2 separate regions of the Homo sapiens genome follow, and region 2 is linked to region 1. The links are contacts of gene promoters, found by promoter capture Hi-C in blood cells and fetal thymus (Javierre and others, 2016). All regions are on one chromosome and are shown on one strand. The core of a region is centred on a gene start or on the middle of the fragment in contact, and the rest is flanking DNA. Distances in the headings are between cores, read along the strand shown.

Region 1 (3,635 bases), core at 364-2,863:
CAGGTTCCAGCAGTTCTCCTGCCTCAACCTCCCAAGTAGCTGGGATTACAGGTGTGTGCCACCACATCTGGCTAACTTTTGTATTTTTAGTAGAGACGGGGTTTCACCATGTTGGCCAGGCTGGTCCTGAACTCCTGATCTCTCAGGTGATCCGCCCGCCTCAGCCTCCCAAAGTGCTGGGATTACAGGCCTGAGCCACCGCGCCCGGCCAAGGAGTTTTTAAGTAACAGGTTTCTCGACATCTCTCTTAAGAGTCTATGCTCTATGTCTGCGTAGTATTCCGTGAAAAATAAAGAGTACTCTCTGGGGAAAAGTCATCAGTTGGATATTTTCCACCTCAGCTTACAAGTCTTAGGGAAGCAAGAAAACTAGATAAGGGGCCTCAATGACACTGGATCCAGTCAGAGGCTCAGGAAAGAGAGACCTACAGATGTCTTTAGTGGAACAGTCAGTCACAGCAGCTCTTCAAGAAGCCTCAGACTGTGCGGAGCACAGAGCGGGCAGGAGCTACAGACCCTGCAGAGACCAGGAACAGCCTAGCATGAGTCCTAGGCACACGATGAGGAGTACCTGCAGCAGCTGGAGATCTGGAATGGCAGAGGGTACAGGGGGATGGGAGAAAAGGGCAGTTAATGCCAAAACATCTCTCCTCCAACAGACCCCGTCCTTAGAGGTCGACGTTCTCAAAAGCACTTCAAGAAATTCTTGGCCAGTTTAAAGCAACTTCCTGTCCCTCCCTGTTAGCATAAACAACACTATACAGAAACCACCTTCCCAGGCACTCGGCCTGAGATTTTGAGCTTCATTTGTTTACGATCTCCCCCTGCTGTCCGACAGAGGCTTAAGGAACAAAGACCTTTTACTCAGAGACTTCTTTTCCCAGACTCACTCTAAGAGGATGGAGAGCAAAAGTCCGGATTTCTTGTTCCCACTCTCAAATCCGACGATTAGCAGCAAATCCAAGCATCGTGACTTAGACTAAGTGGGCGATTAGCGTTGTTCCCCGTGAAAGAGCAGGCAAGAGACCAGGCTAAGTCACTTCCCTAAAGGATCTTATCTCAATCTGATTTCGGATTCCCGGGGTTCACCATGGGATCAGGCAGACCTCCTGATGTATGTGCTGATGAAAAGTAGGAAAAAGATTTCTAACCGAGAGCCGAAGGGTGACGGCCTCGTTATGTCTTTAACCTCAAACAACCCCACACGGCTGTCCTCTCCAGAAAGCAACCGGGACACCTGCTGCGCCCCAGTGGGAACGAGCTTGGCGGCCTCGGCTTAGAGGGGGCGCGAGGCTCGGGCCCAACACAGCCCACCTGACACAGGCGTGGGAGAAGGCGAGAGCGCCTCTGAACCAAAGGCAGTCATGGAGGTCTGGTGCCTTGTCCACCCCCAGCCCGCAGCCCAAGGGGCGCCGATCCCCCCGAGCAGGCCTGCCTCTGCCGCCAGGGTGCCCTCACCTGAGCCTCCTGCCTTTCGGCCCGCTCAGCTTCCGCGAGCTCATGGCCGCCGTCGTCCCCGCGCGGTGGTCCGGCAGGTTCGCGTCTCCCGGCCAGCGGGTCCCGGCCAGAGCAGCCCTGCGGGCGGCCGGTCTCACGCGCCTAGCTGTCGCGGACTGTTTTTCTTCCGGACTCCGACCGTCCGCCCCGGCTTCCGTCAGAGACGCGCCCTCCGCGCACCCCGGGATCTGGGTGGTGCGGTTCGCAGAAGGAGGCGGGACTCTCCCACGAGCGCAAAGCTGCGAGAGGCTGAGCGAAGACGGGTTCGCGGACGTAAGAGGGGCGTGTCGGGCCTGTCATCAGCGCACGCGCAACACTGCCCCAGACGACGCGAGGTGTGCGGCCGCCACTAGACCCGGCCCAGCCCGCGCCCGCCGTCCGCAGCTCCCAGCGTGCCCCGCGCCAGGGGCCGTCTTCCGGCGGAAGTTGTCTCTTCGCCGCCGCCGCAGCCTCTGCCCCACTCGTGAGGGATCCGAGGGCTCCGTCCTTGTGCTGTCTTCGCCCCGGCTCCCAGGGGTCAAACGAGGGTCGGGGGTGGGGACACGCAGCCTAGCCACTGTCCTGCCTGGGATCCGGTCTCCCCCGCCCCCCGGCTGCAGGTAATCTCCCCATTCCTGCTACTGCGGGAGCGCCTCCGTTCTCCACGCCCACTTTCAGGCTTCTACTCCAAACTTATTGGATTACCTATTGCATATGGGACGTTTGGGGATTCCTGGACTCCTACAGAATTAGCCGTCAATAAATGAAACGTAGGCCGGGGCGCGGTGGCTCAATGCCTGTAATCCCAGCACTTTGGGAGGCCGAGGCGGGCGGCTCACTTGAGGTCAGGAGTTTAAGACCAGCCTGGCCTTAACATGGTGAAACCCCGTCTCTGCTAAAAACACAAAAGCTAGCTGGGCTTGATAGCGCGCGCCTGTTAATCCCAGCTACTCGGGAGGCTGAGGCAGGAGAATCGCCTGAACCCGGGAGGTGGAGGTTGCAGTGAGCCGAGATTGCGCCACTGCACCCCAGCCTGCGCGACAGAGCGAGACTTCGTTTCAAAAAAAAAAAATAATAATAATAATTAGCCGAGATGGGGTTTCGCCATGTTGGTCAGGCTGGTCTCGAACTCCTGACCTCAGCTGATCCACCCGCCTCGGCCTCCCAGAGTGCTGCGATTTCAGGTGTGAGCCACCGCGCCCGGCCTAAAACTACTTTAAATAAATGTTTTGCTTGTTTGGTAGGGTGGATAAAGAGGAAGATGTGAAGAGGAGGCAGACAAAAGCAAAAGGACATCCTGTCAGTAGGAAACGGCCGAATTACAATTCAGATGTGCAATGTTTGCATAAGTAAACTGACACGGGACTATTATATGCAGAAATCCACGTGCAAAAATTTTCAGACACACCTTTGTACCTCTTCCTAATCCTGCCCTGGTAAAATGGCGGTTATCAGTGCAAGTTTGAGGATACATACAGCTGGAAAATGGACATCACCAAACTGGACTCCAGAAAGTTCTGTCTAGGATTTTATTAGACTGCTTTTTTTCTCAATATACCTGTATTGGAAGATTGAGACAAAAAGGCACAAACTCACATTAAATAAACAAGGTAATCTAATCAATTCTACAAAGTGTAGTTTGTAAAACAAGTAGCACTAGGAACCAACCAAAGTAAGTCAGGGAGTCCCAGCAGGGACTGTAAAAGAACTTGGGAAGCTATACACATGCCCACGATACTGACCCTGTCCCGGACCTCTCTGCATGAGAAGGCCAGAGCCCAGCACCCCTCCTACAGAGGCACTGCTGCTTCTGTTGGGGCTGTGACCCTGGAATTCTGATGGAAGCAGCTGGTCTGAAGGGGCATGGCACACACTCAGGTACTACCCCTGGAGCTGAACCTTTATCATAAGTCCCTCTGAGTGCTAGTCAGTTTGGAGGTGGGTGAGGAGGAAAGGGGGTACTTAAAAGAAGCCAACACTGTTGCCCAGCAGCAACACCATCCGTGGGGATGGAACAGACCAGGGACATCCTCCTTTATGTTTATGTGGGCTGCAATTCCAGATCCAGGCTGACCTCAGCTCATAATGGATGCTTTTCAACTGGGGCAACAGGTGGAGGTGGGAGGAGCCCTTGTTAGGGCTAAAGTGATATGTGTGGGT
Region 2 (3,635 bases), core at 423-2,922, 260 kb before region 1:
CAACAGAAGCCTCTAACTCTTTTTTTTTTTTTTTTTTTAAGACAGGGTCTCGCTCTGTCTCCCAGGCTGGGTGCAGTGGCGCCATCTCGGCTCACTGCAAGCTCCGCCTTCCAGGTTCACCCCATTCTCCTGCCTCCGCCTCCCGAGTAGCTGGGACTACAGGCGTCCGCCACCACGCCGGGCTAATTTTTTGTATATTTAGTAGACACAGAGTTTCACTGTGTTAGCCAGGATGGTCTCGATCTCCTGACCTCGTGATCCAGCTGTCTCGGCCTCCCAAAGTGCTGGGATTACAGGTGTGAGTCACCACGCCTGGCCAGAAGCCCCTAACTCTTTTAGAACAACGTGCTATTTATTAATAGGCTATTTTCTCATCTCCCCTTCTGGGAAAGCTCACTCAGAAAAACCCTTAACACACAACCAGAAAGCCTCTGGTTACAAGTGACCTTTGCAAAGTGTCCTGTTTTCAAAGGAAGGGGCTTCAAAATAAGAGAAGATGGAAGACATCTGAATTGGAACTCACCCCCGCACCCCAACCCTGGGGAAGAGGGTGGGGATCAAGATCACTGCCGGCCAGGCACCATGGCTCACGCCTGTAATCCCAGCACTTTGGGAGGCCGAGACAGGTGGATCACGAGGTCAAGAGTTCGAGACCAGCCTGGCCAACATGTTGAAACCCCATCTCTACTAGAAATACAAAAATTAGCCGGGAGTGGGTGCACGCTGTAGTCCCAGCTACTCGGGAGGCTGAGGCACGAGAATCACTTGAACCCGGGAGGCGGAGGTTGCAGTGAGCTGAGATCTCGCTGTTGCACTCCAGCCTGGGCGACAGAGCAAGACTCAAAAAAAAAAAAGAGAGAGAGAGAATATTAGCCTCTCCTTGTTCCTCCAAAAGGCAGAAACTAAACCCCCAGAGGCAAATCTACCAAGGCTGACCCACTCCCCACCACACTGCCCTGCTCCAACCCCACCGCCCCTCAACCATCCTCCCTACCTTCCAGGGGAATTAGGAACGGAGCAGAACTCCATGGCAGCCAGTCTTGGTTACCCACTGATTTAATCTCTGATTCCCGCCGTGAGGAGAAAGAATATGAATTACTATAAACCCATCTGTTCCCTTTCTTTCTAAAAAGACAAGGACCCGGGGCTGGGTAATAATACTGTTGGCATTACGGGAGGTCTCTAGCTCACTGGTGTCTCCCTCCCCCCTTCCCCCAACAGCGCATAATTTGAAGATTTTCTTTAAAAAAAAAAATGACTTTAACGCCCCCAACTAATGTTTTCCTAACAGTAATAATTATAAATTCCAAACAAAAACTTAGCGGCGTGTGTGTGTGTGTGTGTCTCTTCCAGGCTTTTCATTTCAATAGATCTGCTAATTAAAAGCTATAATTTAACAAATAATGACCTAACCATCTCACTTTGAAATCAAACAAAAACCTACCACTAAAATGTGGGACTAGATACAGATAATGAATCCGGGTGCAATTCACACTCCTGCTGGGCCCAGGCTGGCCCCCTTCCAGCAACGGGCCTACGCCTGTGATTAGCAGAAATAGCTTTTCCAGCCATTTGGAGCAAACAGGGAGGATAAGTGAGCAATTTATGAGTCTAACAGTCGTTTTGGACCCACGCCCACTGCTGAAGGAGCAGGATGGAGCATTTATCCCTCCCCTGCCCTCGTTCATTGACACTTGGTCAATTTCATTTTCTCCCCGGCCCTCTTTGGCCCCTGGGGGAGAGAGTTATTTCTTTTTTTTCTTTTTTTTGAGATGGAGTCTCGCTCTGTCGCCCAGGCTGGAGTGCAGTGGTGCAATCTCCGCTCACTGCAAGCTCCGCCTCCCGGGTTCAAGCCATTCTCCTGCCTCAGCCTCCCGAGTAGCTGGAACTACAGGGGCCCGTCACCACCCCTGGCTAATTTTTTGTATTTTTAGTAGAGACGGGATTTCACCGTGTTAGCCAGGATGGTCTCAATCTCCTGACCTCGTGATCTGCCCACTTTGGCCTCCCAAAGTGCTGGGATTACAGGCGTGAGCCACCGCGCCCGGCCCCTAAAGTTATTTCTTAATAACAAGCCGGAAGGATTTGTGAAAAGGAAAACTAGTAATGAAACCAGGTGAAGATGCCCACTGAATCCAGCATCCTAAATGTTTAATAAAATAATAAACGATGGGCTGGGTGCAGTGGCTCACGCCTGTAATCCCAGCACTTTGGGAGGCTGAGATAGAAGGATCACCTGAGGTTGGGAGTTTGAGACCAGCCTGGCCAACATGGTGAAATGCCGTCTCTACTAAAAATACAAAAATTAGGCTGGCATGTTGGAGGGCGCCTGTAATCCCAGATACTCGGGAGGCTGAGGCAGGAGAATGGCTATTTTTTTTTTTTTTTTTTTTTTTTTGAGATGGAATCTCACTCTGTCGCCCAGGCTGGAGTGCAATGGTGCAATCTCGGCTCACTGCAACCTCCGCCTCCCAGGTTCAAGCGATTCTCCTGCCTCAGCCTCCCGAGTAGCTGGGACTACAGGCGCCCCCCACCAAGCCTGGCTAATTTTTTGAATTTTTAGTAGAGACGGGGTTTCAGCGTGTTGGTCAGACTGGTCTCGAACCCCTGACCTCGTGATCCGCCCGCCTCGGCCTCCCAAAGTGCTGGGATTACAGGCTTGAGCCAGCGCGCCCGGCCGAGAATCGCTTGAACCCGGGAGGCGGAGGTTGCAGTGAGCCGAGATCGTGCCATTGCACTCTAGCCTGGCGACAGAGCAAGACTCTGTCTCAAAAAAAATTTTTTTAATGTAAAAAATAATGCAATGATAAAAAACAATGAAAGCAAGATTGTTTCCCACCTACCACGCCCCTTCCCTGAGCTGGGAATTGGGCACCTGTGCCAGGTTAAACATAGCCCGCTGTTCTGGAACCTTCCCCGCAGCCCCAGCTCACACCAGTCCGCTGAGAGGCTGCCCAGCTGCTGTACAGGAAATGCTCACGCTCCGTGGGAGGAGCCTTCAAACACTCACCCCTTCCTGGAGTCCCGGCGGGACGGGAGAACTGGGGACTCTGCGAAAGCGCTGCGGAGCGTCCAAGAGCTCCCCGTGGAGCTGAGGCAGGAAGACCGCGCACTGGCTGAGACCCCAGGAGCCCAAAGCTGGACCTGGCGCAGGCGCAGGGAGGAAGGCGCTTCTGGGTGTGCAGAGGTCACACGGCCACCCGAGGACCTCAGCCTAATCCTGCCTTGAAATCTTAAATCCCAATGTCCGCCAGGCGCGGTGGCTCACGCCTGTAATCCCAGCACTTTGGGAGGCCGAGACGGGCGGATCACAAGGTCAGGAGTTCGAGACCAGCCTGGCCAACGTGGCAAAACCCCGTCTCTACTAAAAATACAAAAAAAAAAAAAAATAGCCAGGCGTGGTGGCAGGTGCCTGTAATCCCAGCTACTCGGGAGGCTGAGGCAGGAGAATGACGTGAACCCGGGAGGCGGAGCTTGCAGTGAGCCCAGATCGCGGCACTGCACTCCAGCCTGGGCGACAGAGCGGGAGTCCGTCTCAAAATAATAATAATACAAAAAAATTAGCCAGGCGTGTTGGCGGTCGCCTGTAATCCCAGCTACTTGGGAGTCTGAGGCAAGAGAATTGCTTGAGCCCA

Evidence for each region. Contacts are between HindIII fragments. The CHiCAGO score rates a contact against its expected background, and 5 or more counts as called.
Region 2: a contact is called between a fragment that was not itself captured here and the fragment with the promoter of INPP5K in region 1, in 1 of 17 cell types (endothelial precursors). The highest score is 5.7, in endothelial precursors.

What each region holds. Positions count from the first base shown.
Region 1 is chr17:1,514,999-1,518,633 of GRCh38, forward strand. It overlaps INPP5K (inositol polyphosphate-5-phosphatase K), which reads right to left and starts at 1,614. Exons shown (of 12, transcript NM_016532.4): 1 at 1,458-1,614. The coding sequence starts at 1,501. It overlaps PITPNA (phosphatidylinositol transfer protein alpha), which reads right to left. Exons shown (of 12, transcript NM_006224.4): 12 at 2,720-3,635. PITPNA-AS1 (PITPNA antisense RNA 1) reads left to right here and starts at 1,921. Exons shown (of 2, transcript NR_028514.1): 1 at 1,921-2,095; 2 at 2,720-3,098. RefSeq lists a silencer at 1,700-1,999. The HindIII fragment of the contact is 10,075 bases long and covers 1-3,635 here.
Region 2 is chr17:1,250,904-1,254,538 of GRCh38, forward strand. No RefSeq gene overlaps it. Among named protein-coding and RNA genes, the nearest start is that of BHLHA9, 18 kb to the right of the region's middle. The HindIII fragment of the contact is 4,133 bases long and covers 1-3,635 here.